Linked DNA regions of Homo sapiens: region 1 is linked to region 2. Evidence: promoter capture Hi-C in human tissues and cell types (Jung and others, 2019). All regions are on one chromosome and are shown on one strand. Each heading gives the region's core, a stretch centred on a gene start or on the middle of the fragment in contact. The rest is flanking DNA. Distances are from core to core; before and after follow the strand shown.

What was found. The method cuts DNA at HindIII sites, captures the fragments that hold promoters and counts their contacts. A contact is called where the count stands out against the background at its distance.
Region 1: a contact is called between a fragment that was not itself captured here and the fragment with the promoter of HEG1 in region 2, in 1 of the 25 tissues and cell types used here (IMR-90 fibroblasts).

The regions. Positions count from the first base shown.
Region 1 is chr3:125,184,356-125,190,655 of GRCh38, reverse strand. It overlaps SLC12A8 (solute carrier family 12 member 8), which reads left to right. Exons shown (of 14, transcript NM_024628.6): 3 at 135-281; 4 at 3,228-3,419. Among named protein-coding and RNA genes, the nearest start is that of SLC12A8, 25 kb to the left of the region's middle. The HindIII fragment of the contact is 3,800 bases long and covers 581-4,380 here.
Region 2 is chr3:125,051,664-125,057,945 of GRCh38, reverse strand. It overlaps HEG1 (heart development protein with EGF like domains 1), which reads left to right and starts at 1,949. Exons shown (of 17, transcript NM_020733.2): 1 at 1,949-2,371. The coding sequence starts at 2,056. RefSeq lists enhancers at 1,386-1,435, 5,979-6,108 and silencers at 1,686-2,065, 2,146-2,235, 2,296-2,455, 5,789-5,838. The HindIII fragment of the contact is 8,893 bases long and covers 1-4,291 here.

The DNA.
Region 1 (6,300 bases), core at 1,231-3,730, 130 kb before region 2:
CACTTGCCCTGGCACAATAAGACAGGACTGTTTTTAAGCTGAGTTCTCCTACCTCCCTCCTCCTGTTCCACTCTCATGCCATCCCTGGCCCTCCCAATGGCCCCTCAGCTGATTTCTGTGTGTTCTGTTTGCAGGATGCCCTGGCCCAGCCCCAGCCCTGGTGGAAGACCCAGCTGTTCATGTGGGAGCCTGTGCTGTTTGGGACCTGGGATGGTGTGTTCACATCCTGCATGATCAACATCTTTGGGGTTGTGCTCTTCCTGAGGACTGGCTGGCTGGTGGTGAGTGCTGAGTTGGTGGCCTGGAGCCTCTCACGGGCCCAAGACAGGAAAGCTCTGCCACTCTTGCATTCTACAGTGCAGGCCACAGATTCCTGAAGCACAGATGCTCCTGAAACACGAAACAGAAGCAAGCACGATGAATAGCTAGCATTGCTTGTTAAATGAGCATCCTGTGAAGATAGGCTTCCGAATTTCTAATGGAAACCTCACACCATAGATTTAACTGCAGAATAGGAGCACAGAAGTCAGGGCTCATCATGAGCCGGACTTGAGATGGGTCAGAGAGATCAGATTGATGGCAATTTTGCCTCCAGCTTGTGGCCCTCTGTAGTTTTCCCGGTATTCTTCACTTCATCTTGGGCCCGCCCACATGGTTGCCTTCCCCCACCACACTGCAACCCTGTAGGTAAGACTGTGCATGGGGATGCTTGGTCAGAGGTGTGGGCCGCCTACCTCTAGGGATGGATTGCCTAGGATGGACTCTGCTGTGTGAGATCCTGGGGGTCAGTTCATCTCCCCCTGTAGAAGGAACAAAAGGCCTCTTCTTTAATTCTTATGCAAAGCATCCTAGGACCTTCCAAGCAGATGTGTGCCTGGGGCAGGGGTTCTCAGTCCCACACACAGTGCCATCTCATGCAGTGGGACTTCAGTAGACCACACAGGTGCGCAGAACAAAAGGCAAGCCAGTCACCATCTAAACATGGATGAGCACCTGCTGTGGGCCAAGCACTACTTAGTGCCAGTGGGATCACAAAAGACAAGACATGGCCTGGGCCCTCATCCCCTCCTCTCTTCCCCGCCCCGCCCTATGAGCTAACAGCTGTGGTGGGTAGATATTGCATTAGGAGAGTTCTGAAAACAGCATTAAGTCCCTTGGGGTGGAACAGGCTATGAGTGCTGCAGTCACTGAGGTGTCAGGAAGCCTTCCTGGAGGAGATGCAGTTGAGCCAGGCTTTGAAGGGTGAGCTGGACTAGATGGGTGAAAGAGAGGAGGCCATTCAAGGTGTAGAATCTACTAGTCAGGATTCTCCAGAGAAACAGGCCAATGCCAACAGGAGATGTAAGTATGTCATGTATATATTAGCAGGTAAGGATTGATGCTGCAGTCTTGAGTCTGAAGGCTGGAAATGCAGGAAGAATTTCTGTATTGCAGCCTGGAGGCAGAATTCCTTCCTCTTTGGGAAACCAGCCTTTGCTTGTAAGGCCTTCAACTGATTAGACGAGGCCCACCCATACTATGGAGGGTAATCTCCTTTACTTAAGGTCAACTGATAGTAAATATTAATCACATCTGAAAATCACCTTTACAGCAACATTTAGACTAGTGTTTGACTAAACAATTAGTTGCCGTAGTCTAGCCAAGTTGACATATAAAATTAACCATTACATAGGCAAATTTGGGGAGATTTAAGCTCCTTTATAGTGGGATGTACAGGATTCTTAGCCCCCATAAGAAGTCTGGGCAAGACCAGACCTTCCTAAGCTCTCATTCTACACCACACTCAGATCCTCAGCTCAGGTTTCGGCCTTAGCCACAGCCAGGGTGGGTCTCAGACCAGCAGTGGAGCCCTTGAGCATTATATTATAAACACTGGAACAGAGTACAACTGACTTCCAGGACAATTTTCCAGCTCATGTTAGGCCACTCAGCTCTTGAACTGGCTCTGCCCACTCCTAGGACCCTCTCCAGCACTCACAACACATGAAGTCTTGACTATCAGGAGTCTTCCTTGCTTTCTATTGCAAAACATGTGACATTACATCTCCTTCTTAGAAGTGCTGTGTCCACTGCCTCTCTGCGACTCTTGCTTTTCACACTGAAATGTGTCTGTCTACATGTGTTCATCTCCAGCCATGCATGGTTTGTTTATTCGCTCAACAAGCATTTAATGAACACCTATTTTGTGGAGGTTATGCTAAGCACTGAGAATATGAAGGGGAAGAAAACATGATCCTGCTCCGTATTAGTCCATGTTACATTGCTATAAAGGAATACCTGAGGCTAATTTATGAAGAAAAGAGGTTTATTTAGCTCACAGTTCTGCAGGCTGTACAAGAAGCATGGCACCAGCATCTGCACTTGGTGAGGCCTCAGCAAGCTTTCACTCATGGGGGAAGGTGAAGAGGGAGCAGCGTGCCACGTAGCCGGAGAGAAGGCAAGAGAGATGCCAGGCTCTTTTAAACAACCAGCTCTCCTGTGAACGAACAGAGTGAGAACTCACCCATTACTGTGGGAGGACACCAAGCCATTCACGAGGGGTCCACCCCCATGACCCAAACACCTCCCACCAGGCCCCACCTCCAACATTGGGGATCACATTTCGACATGAGATTTGGAAGGGATCCAAATCCAAACATCTAAACCATATCATCCTCCCCTGGAGCTCACAGCCTAGAGGTCAAAACTGGCTTGGAAACAGACTCAATATGACAAGTCCTGTGAAAAGTACTAAGCCCTGGCACTGGAGGAGCCCAGAGAAAGGGTTACAGGGCCAGCTTCCTGGTGAGAAATCCTAAACGTTGAGGCCTAAAGGATATGCTGGAGTTAACCTGACAAAGGTACAGAATGAGCAGGAGAGGCCTTCCAGGCAGGGGAATCAGCATGAGGAGGGGTGGGGGTGGGGAGAGAACTTGTCGCTGCACGTCAGGCACAAAGTGAGATTAGGAGGCACCTCGTGAGGGCATCAGCAGCTCTGACTGTACCCTATAGGTGGGAGAGTCATTGAAGAATTTGCAGCCAGGACGCTTCCTTTCACTTAGAACTTCTTCCTGGCCTTGGCTGTTGTGGTGCTTGCTTTGTCCTTTTTAGTTGTCCTGACTCTGTGCCCCCACCCCTGGCCCCTATTCCAGTGCTGTGGGAGGAGGGGAGGTGGTCAATGCCCCCAGCAGGGAGCTGGCGGGGCCTCCTCACCTAATCCAACCTTGCTCCTTGCTATTCTGCTGCAGGGAAACACAGGAGTGCTCCTGGGCATGTTCCTGGTGTCCTTCGTCATCCTGGTGGCCCTCGTCACGGTGCTGTCTGGCATTGGCGTCGGGGAGCGCAGCAGCATCGGCAGCGGTGGCGTCTACTCCATGATCTCCTCGGTCCTGGGTGGGCAGACGGGAGGCACCATCGGGCTGCTCTATGTGTTTGGACAGGTGAGGCCTGCGCCCGGGATGCTTCCCCTGCCTGGCCCTCTGCCACTTTCTTCTTGTCCATTTCCTCACTTGACCTGGGGAGAAGCGAGGGTGGGGACAATTGCCGCATGTGACAGACGAGCAGGTTGGGGCTCTGAAGGGAATTCAGCAGAGAGTCAAGTCACTATCCAGGGCCTGACCTCTTAGTCCAGCACTCCTTTCCCTCTGCCACTCCCGCCTCCTGGATGCCTGATGTGACCAGCAGGGCAGGGCCTGGCCAGCACATTCTTGCTGTTCAATCTGGGGACCAGATTGCATGACAGTGGCTGAAGCCCAGGTGGCAGCCAGGTGGCAGCCAGGTGGCCTGGGCCCTGGGACGCTTTTTTACTGAAGATGGGTATTTTGCCTGTGCCAAAGGGCTTTCCTAGAAGCAGGCACTTCTCAAATGAGCAGGAGCTCCCGGGAGCATTTGATAGCTCGGGTGGCCTTCACAGGGAGGCTGACAGCCTCTTGTGTGGACGCCCTGTCTGAGAGGGAGAATGTTAATGAGGAGTGTGCTTCATCAGAATGGACGGAGGCACTCCGAAAACGAGCGAGTAGGGGGAAATCCTAAGGCTTTTTTAGCTAAAACACAGGCATGGTGACTTAATGCTGAGGGAACAAAGTACAGACATTAAGAAGCAGTTCTTTGTCAGCATTTCTTGGATTGAAAAAGGCTTTTATGAGAGTGCAAATGGTGGTGGGTGGTTGAAAAAACAGTTTAAAGAGAAGAATTTGTCTAAGTTAGAGTGTGCAAGAATCTCCCCAGAGAAAGCATCGGTTTTGTTTCTTTTATTTTTAGGCAGCAGGAGCAGGGTGTTTCAGCATAAATATATCTGATTCTCGAACAGCACAGAGCTGCGTGTGTGCATGTGTGGGCGGTGGGGGTGCCTGTGTGTGTCTAAGACAGTGCAGGAAAGGCAAACAGATGGCCTCTGCACTCTTAAAAAGCACTTGCCTTGACTGCAGAAAGTTATTTAAGTATAGTAGTTGGAGAGGGGAGTAATAAATGGTCAGTTTACTTTATTACCCTGGGGACTTGGTATATAAATTTTTTTTTTTTTTTTACTTCTCTGCTATTTTATAGCCAACCAGGCTGCAAGGTAGGCAAAATCCTGCTTTCCCCCTCTCGGTACAGACACCAAGTGAGCCTCTAGAGGCAGATGCCATGGATGGGCACTGGTGTGAACACCCCTGGACAAAGACAGGCATCTGTGCTGCTGAGAGTCCCACTTACATGGGCTGATTTGGAAAAAAGATGTTCACAGATAAGATGTTTTCTAAGTGCTGGCAGCCACGGCCTGAGACGCCACTGCACCAGCATCCCAGCTATTTTCCTGCCTTTCCACTTGGGCCCTGGTCCCAAACATTAGAGTCCCCCTGGTCACTGTCTCTGGAGTGCCTGTGCTTTGTTTGTCGCTGGCGCGGGCCAGGAGTCCCTGATCAGGGTGTGGTTAGTGTGTAATCCTTTTTATAAATTGCTGAATTTGGTTTGTTAACATTTTGTGGAGGATTTTTGTGTATATATTCATGAGGGATATTGGTCTGTAGTTTCCTTGTGATTCTTTGTCTGGTTTTGGTGTCAGGCTAATTCTGGCCTCGTAGACTGAGTTGGAAGGTGTTCCCTCCTTCTCTATTTTTTGGAGGAGTTTGTGAAGGGTTGGTGTTAATTCTTTAAACATATGGTAGAATTTTGCCATGAAGCCATCTGGTCCTGGGTTTTTTTTGATAGAAAGTTTTTTGGTTACTAATGGAATCTCTTTACTTATATAGGCATATTCTGATTTTCTACTTCTTCTTGATTTAGTTTTGATAGTTTATATCTTCCTAGGAATTTGTCCATTTCTTTTTTTTTTTTTAATCTGGGAATTTTGTTTTGTTTTTTGTTTTTTGTTTTTGAGACGCCGTTTTGCTCTTGTTTCCCAGGCTGGTGTGCAATGGCGTGATCTCGGCTCACCACAATCTCCACCTCCTGGGTTCAAGCAATTCTCCTGCCTCAGCCTCCCGAGTAGCTGGGGTTACAGGCATGCGCCACCACACCCGGCTAACTTTGTATTTTTAGTAGAGATGGGGTTTCTCCATGTTGGTCAGGCTAGTTTTGAACTCCCGACCTGAGGTGATCCGCCCGCCTCGGCCTCCCAAAGTGCTGGGATTACAGGCGTAAGCCACTGTGCTCGGCCATGAATTTGTCCACTTCACGTAGGTTATCTAATGCATCGGCATATTAATTGTCTATAGATTTTCTTATAGTCCTTTTTATTTGTGTAAGTTTGGTGGTAATGTCTCCCCTTTCATTCCTAATTTAAATAATGTCTTCTCTTTCTTTTTTCTTGATCAGCTTAGATAAAGGTGTGTTTACAAAGAACTAATTATTGGTTTTGGTGATTTTCTCTATTGTTTTTCTGATCCCTAATTCATTTCTGCTCTGACCTTTATTGATTCCTTCTTCTGCTTGCTTGGGTTCACTTTGCTCATCTTTCCCTAGTTTCTTAAGGTGACAGGTTGGGTTATTGATTTGAGCTCCTCCTTCCTCTAGGGTGCGGTTGGGGTTTTGAGGCTCCCTATTCCTTGTTCTTATTAACTCCCTCAGCCCTCATTCCAGGGCATGTGTGCATTCATTTATTTCTAATGATTGTCAAAACAGATTCCCTGATTTTACCCCCAAGCAGGGGTCAGCAAACTTCTATAAAGGGCCAGATCATAAATATTTTGGGTTTTGAGGGTCATATGGCTCTGTCACAACTACTCAACCCTGCCACTGTAGTGTGAATGCAGCCACAGATAAATGGCTTACAAAAAACGGGTATAGTTGTGTCCCAATAAAACTTTATTTACCAAAATAATCAGCAAAAAGGATTTGGCC
Region 2 (6,282 bases), core at 700-3,199:
CAGAGAGAAGATTAGAGAGAGATAAACCTGTGGTACTTAAAGTGGGGTGGGATTGGGGGGTGGGGGAGGATTGGGGGGAGGTGGCAGGTACATGTTTACTCCTTGGGTCTTAGTAGAGAAGGCAGATTATCTCATAGGATCCCTGAATCCACACGAGAAGCCTGTAAGGGCCATTCTACCCTTAAACCTTTCCACTTGCCTGGGAGTGCAACCAGTACTATGTGACATGGTCTCCTTGGAGGGGAGGGAGTGGCAGTGACCAGAACCTCTGAGCACAGTCCTAGTCTGTTGGGGCTTGTCTGGCTGGGTCTGGGCAGCTGTGCAGTCCTGCCTGTTAATGTGAGAGCAGCATCCAGAGAAGTTAAGCTCAGGCCATGGGAGCAAACCAAGTCAGTTTCAGGGAGATTACTGTTTGGTACTTTCTTGGAGAGACCTGGAAGTTCTGTGTTAGAGCCCTGGAAAGCTGGTTTGTTTAAAAACAAAACAAAATAAAACCAAATCTTTACTCCTCATTCTCTCATTTAAGGTGAGTTTGTTTATACACAGCCTCCTTTATGTTTTTCTGCCAAATGACTCACTTGTACTGAGTCACCAGAAAGTGGGCCTAGGCCCATCTGCAGCTGCCCTGGACACTACGATCTCATTCTCCTGGAGGTGGGTCATGGAGATCTGGAGACAGAGAAAAAGAGAAGAGCAGAGAAATAGGATGGAGAGCCAGGCCTGACAGTGAGGTGCATACTCATATTTTCACGAGCATTTGGTTGTCAGACAGGGGCCCCCAACAGAACTCGCAAGAACCCCAAGGAGCTGCAACATTTGTTTCTGTTGCAATACTATTTGTTTCCGTTTGCGAATTATTGCAAACTCTGAATTAGGAGACCAGAATTAATAATATCACATGGTCATTCACAGATCAATCATTTCGTCTTCGGGTCTACCTTCAGAATCTTGAGCAAGTTATTTTCCCATTTGAGCCCCTCTTTCTTCACTTAATGAGGTGGCTTACAGTCCTAAACTTTAGACAGTTTATTATTCATTTACTGGGGAGGGAGAGGTTATGGAAACAAATGGAACTTTATTGACCAAGAAAATTTGTTTACATGAAATCTTTGAATCTTTCCCCATAGGTTTCCATTTAAAATTCTGTGTTCTCTGGGCATCATTTGGTTTAATTTGCGATCTGCAGTTCTTTTCCTGATGATGAGTTTGCCCTAGCCTGCCTGAATTCACAGTTTTCTTTTCCCTGCAGCCTGTTTGGGTGTCCTCGCGGTGACATCTCTGCAGAACTCTGGTGTGAGCCAAAGGCAGTGGTCGGATGGGAACGGCATCCAAGCTTGAGAGGGCGTGGGGGATACTCGGATTCTCGCGTTGGCCGGAGGGTGAGGTGTTAGGTTTGGCAAACACGAGCTCATCACCAGCCCTGGGGCCTGAAGAAGGGGAGGTGGGGGTGGGAGTGGGGACACTTCAAATCAATAACGGCGGTGACAGCGCGGGCTGGGTACCAGGGGACCGTTCCCTTTCTCTCTCCTATCAAAGCACTTGGGATAATCTAGTCTGGTGCTAATCACATTACCCAGGACCTGCTTTTCACCTACTTCTTGTGCGTTTAAGGAGTTGGGTAGGTGGTGCCCGATTCAGAAGACTCTGGAGCATGTGTGTGACAAAAGTTGCAGCACCGTGGCTCCGCTGACCTCATCCCGCTGTCCCGGGCCGGGCCGCTCTCCAGGCGCCCGGCCCCAGCCCCCTTCCTGCCCTCTCCCCGCCTCCGGGCCCGCCGCGCGGGGCCGGTGATGTCAACTGAGGAGGAGCCGCCCGCCAGCCAGCGACCCGCCCGGGCTAATTAGCATGTAGCGGCGCCGCGGGCCGCCTCCGCCCAGCCAGCCCGGCCCCCGGCAGCCCTCCCGCGGCTCCCGATAACTTTTGAGGCGGGGAGCGCGCTCGCAGCCTCACTCCGCTCACTTCCCCGGCCCCGCGCGGCCCCCGCCGCCCGCTGCCCGCTGCCCGCTGCCCTCGCCCCGCGCGCCGGGCATGTGAGCGCGGGCGGGCGCCGTCACCATGGCCTCGCCGCGCGCCTCGCGGTGGCCGCCGCCGCTCCTGCTGCTGTTGCTGCCGCTGCTGCTGCTGCCGCCGGCGGCCCCCGGGACGCGGGACCCGCCGCCTTCCCCGGCTCGCCGCGCGCTGAGCCTGGCGCCCCTCGCGGGAGCGGGGCTGGAGCTGCAGCTGGAGCGCCGCCCGGAGCGCGAGCCGCCGCCCACGCCGCCCCGGGAGCGCCGCGGGCCCGCGACCCCCGGCCCCAGCTACAGGGCCCCTGAGCCAGGCGCCGCGACACAGCGGGGACCCTCCGGCCGGGCCCCCAGAGGCGGGAGCGCGGGTGAGTGAGAGCCGGGAACCTGGCGCCTGGCCAGTCTGTGCTGGGGGCGTGGGCGCGCCCCGGGCTGCATCCCCAGCCGTAGGCCCCTCCGCGCGGCGCGACCCAGGGTGGGGGCTCCTCGCCCGGCGTGTGCGGGACCCTGAGGGTCGGCGGGTAGGGAGGGACGCTTTCGCAGTTGGCTGGACTGAGGGGTGTGACTATCCCGTTCTCCTCCAACCCTTTGGAAGAAAACTTATTTCCTATGGGGTACCCTGTATCTCTTCCACCCCACTTTAAAAAAAATGGAAAGGAAAGGGAAAAAGACTGCAAAGCATCTCTCCCACCTCCGATATCTGGCCAGCCGGTCCCCAGTTTCATTTTTTCCGCTATACAGAACTGGCCTCTCCAGGTACAGGGCTCGACTTTCTCATCTAAATAACTGATTTTTAAGGGGTTCTAGGACGGGATATTGTAAAGGACAAAGGATGTACGTAGTTTGAAACAAAACGCTCTACTGGTTCGACTTAAAAGCAAAGGAACGCGGTTGGGGTTGCATGGTTGAACCCCTGCAAGGCACAGGCTGATACAGGACCATCCCTGAGCCTCCTCCCTCCCCTTTCCTTTCCCAATGAACTGTTGCTCCGTGGTAGCCACCGCCTGTCCCACGCAGAGAGAAGGAACTGACCTCTTCTCCCTGCTACCTTTGTGTCCAGTTCTTTCTTATGATCTGGAAAAATATGCCACATACTGAGTGGAATTCTAACCATAATACCATTATGACCTTGGGACTGCTGTCTCTTTGCGCTCACTTTCTCCATCTGTGAAATGAAAGTGATGATCCCTGTTCCTTCTAGCCTCCTAGTGATGATGTGACAAAATGAAAGTAAAAATAAATGGAAAGTGCTTTGAACAAAGTCAGCAACGTGGTGGTGTTAGCCTTTGCCTTCCTGTGAGTGACACAGGGCATATGCTCTGTCCGGGCTATTCAAATAAGCTGGGTTGCTTGCAACACTGGACATTGATTTGGAGTTTCCCTGAAAGTTGAGTTTTTTGTCTGCATAATTGACAATTCATTTAAGTTTCTCATCTCATGCAGACTTTCTGGCACGTGAATTAGCTTGCTTCCTCCAACCTAGAGGTGCTTCTTAGAGTTAAATAAGAAAAAGTTTGGATTTTTAAAAATCAAGTTCTCCTGTAAAAACTCAATTTCATATTCAACAGTATTCCCATTATCGCAAAATGCCTTATTTTGTGAATTTTTAAATCACTGGCATAAGATTGAGAAACCGAGGAACAGTAAGAAAAGGGAGAGGAGAGATAAGCTTCTGAAGACGTGTAGGAGACACATCCCGGAGTGACTGTGACTTTAGATTACTTACAGCATACGCTGTTTTGCTAACTTCCACGGGAAGGAATCAAGAACATAAAACAACATATTTCCCGACTTTCTCCAACTAGGAAAGTAACTGAGGAACACTGTGTAGTATTTTGTGAGTTTTTCTAAACAGAAGGTGAACTGCAGAGAACTGAGAACATTTCAGAGGAGACACCCAAGAGCCGAAGGCAGATTTCTCTGGGTAGTAGTCAGGCTGTCTTAGCTGAATGGCCTCCATCTTGTTAGGGGATAGGTGGGAGGGACACTGACTTGCAGGGGCCCTGGCTGGATGGGGCAGGCACATGAGTCTCTTTCCTTCTCTTAGGGGCGGGATCTCTAGAGAGAGGTAGGTATTACAGGTATTACAGAGAGGTAGGGACAGTGGAGGCAGCTAGCTTAGAGGACTCAGCTGGTAAGAATTGGGGCCTTATGTGACCCAAACATCCCTCACAGGTGTGGCAGGTAACACTGCTGGTCTTGGTTTTGTGGCTTTCCCAGTTTGATTCCTTTGCAGAGGTGAGTGATGGAGGCTTCAGGTATATGAGGTACTGGAAGGAATACATGTGAGAATCCCAGAAAGCAGCGAGAGAGTAGTTGGAATAGTGTACACCTTCTCTTACCTAGGTAGGTTCTCTTGGTCTCCTGGTGCCCCACAGACACCACCCAAGGAGTGCCTCCTCTTCAGTGGCTCAAAGGCCCAATCTCTGAAGGGATGTTAGGAAGGTGCGATTAGAAGAGATGAAATGAACACCTGTTGAAGCTGCTAGAAGCTACTCATATGGCCAAGGATCTAGGCATGACCTGTGCTTTTTTTTCTGGTAGTGGCTCAAACAGTATCATTTAGGGGTAAAAAAGAAACAACACATAAGAAAACCAGTGTTCAGTGATTTCAGTGAGTCTGAGTTTTCTGATAACCAGGATTGGGAGCCTTTTGGATGGGTCCTCCTGTATCACTAGATGCTATCACTCATTTCACAAGGCAGCAAGGTCTCAATGCTGAGAGGGCCTCCACAGGTCCTCCAGTCTGCAATGTGTCCCATGCAAATGTCTGCCCCTCCAGCACCCCTGACAGATGGTCATCCCGGCTCTCCCTCAGCATTTTTGTGTTTGGGGAGGCACCATGCTACTGTCACTAACAAGCCCTGAGTCTTACAAGTAACGTGCTCCATTTGGTTGTTGGAGAAGCTTCCTGCAGGCCTTTCGTGCCATGGGGATGCTGGTAGTCAGGGCCTGGCCCCTGGGACTTCCAAATACACTGATGTCAGCAGCAAGGGCCACAGATGTCCTTTTCTTCCCTGTGGGCCATTTCCAGCTCTTCTCTTCCTGGCAGAGTTCAACTTCTCACTGCTGAGTAACCGCGTTTGCATTCCATTATGTGGATTGTTTGCCTGTATTAGACTGTAAGTCCCTGGAGAGCAGCTCCCTGTTTATATAGCCATTGTTAAGCTTTTGCACCCACCCGTCACCCTGCTGGCTGTTCAGCTGATGTTTATTGCTGGTGTTTCAGCCAGTGGTGACAAGATGCTGAGACCTAGAGGTTTTCTTTTTCTGCGTGTGTTTTTCTACCACTCAGGACTTCCGAGCCACAGTTCTAAGCTGAATGCAAAGTTTATATGCCTTAATTTTGTGATCCATATGCTATGCTTTAATTGTGAGATCTGCAGATGAGAGGGAGAGAAGGCTTAAATCATAATGAAAATCAATGCAGAAGGAAAGAACTTTCCCACCCAAAGGGGAAATGACGCTGAGTAGCTGAGCAGCCAGCCCGAGAAACAATAATCTTAGAAAAATGCAGCTCCCTGGAGGAAAGGAAGCGCTTTGAGCTGAGCCCCGTCTGAGCTGTTAAATAGCTGTCGCCTGAATTGCTCTAACTTTGTGGGCCAACTTCGTCATTTAGCTTGGCTGCTGGGAGAACCATTACAAGGTGCAGCGGGCAAGAGACAGCCCCTCAGGGAGGGGAGAGTGGCTTCCCTCCAGAAGGCGGCTACCTCACTCCTGGCGGAGGCTTGGGGGTGGTGGTAGTGGGGATTCCTGAGAAGCCTGTTTGCTTTGATGGAGGGTGTCCCAAATAGAAGGGGGGGAGGCGGGAGGGGGCAAGGGACTCTCCGTGGTGCATGAGTGTTTAAAAGCCACATCCTTTTTACCTTGCAAGAACCCTTTTATTGCTTTCCTCAGCCTGTGTGCACATGCTGAACTGTTATGTTTTGCCAGAGACCCGAATGGTGTGGACTGAGGGAGACTGAAAGGTATTTGCTGCCCAGCTGGGCAGTTTCTGCATCCTTGTCCTGGAGGCTGGGGAAGGAGCCTCTGCCCTCCTGGTGATCCCTCCTGCCTTCCAGCAGCCCCGCCCAGCTGGCTGAAAACAGTGTTCCTGAATTTAACTTGTCCTTGTCCAGAGACACTCAGAAAGAAAGCAAAGAACAGATGGCAGTTGTGGTTTTGTTAGCCACTTACTGCCTTCTTCAGTGGCTTCCCTCTGTCTCCAGCGTCCTTTTTGTATGAATGGGAGGTTTCAGCTGCAGTAAATATTCTCTTCCAAGAATCCTGGGGAGGCAAC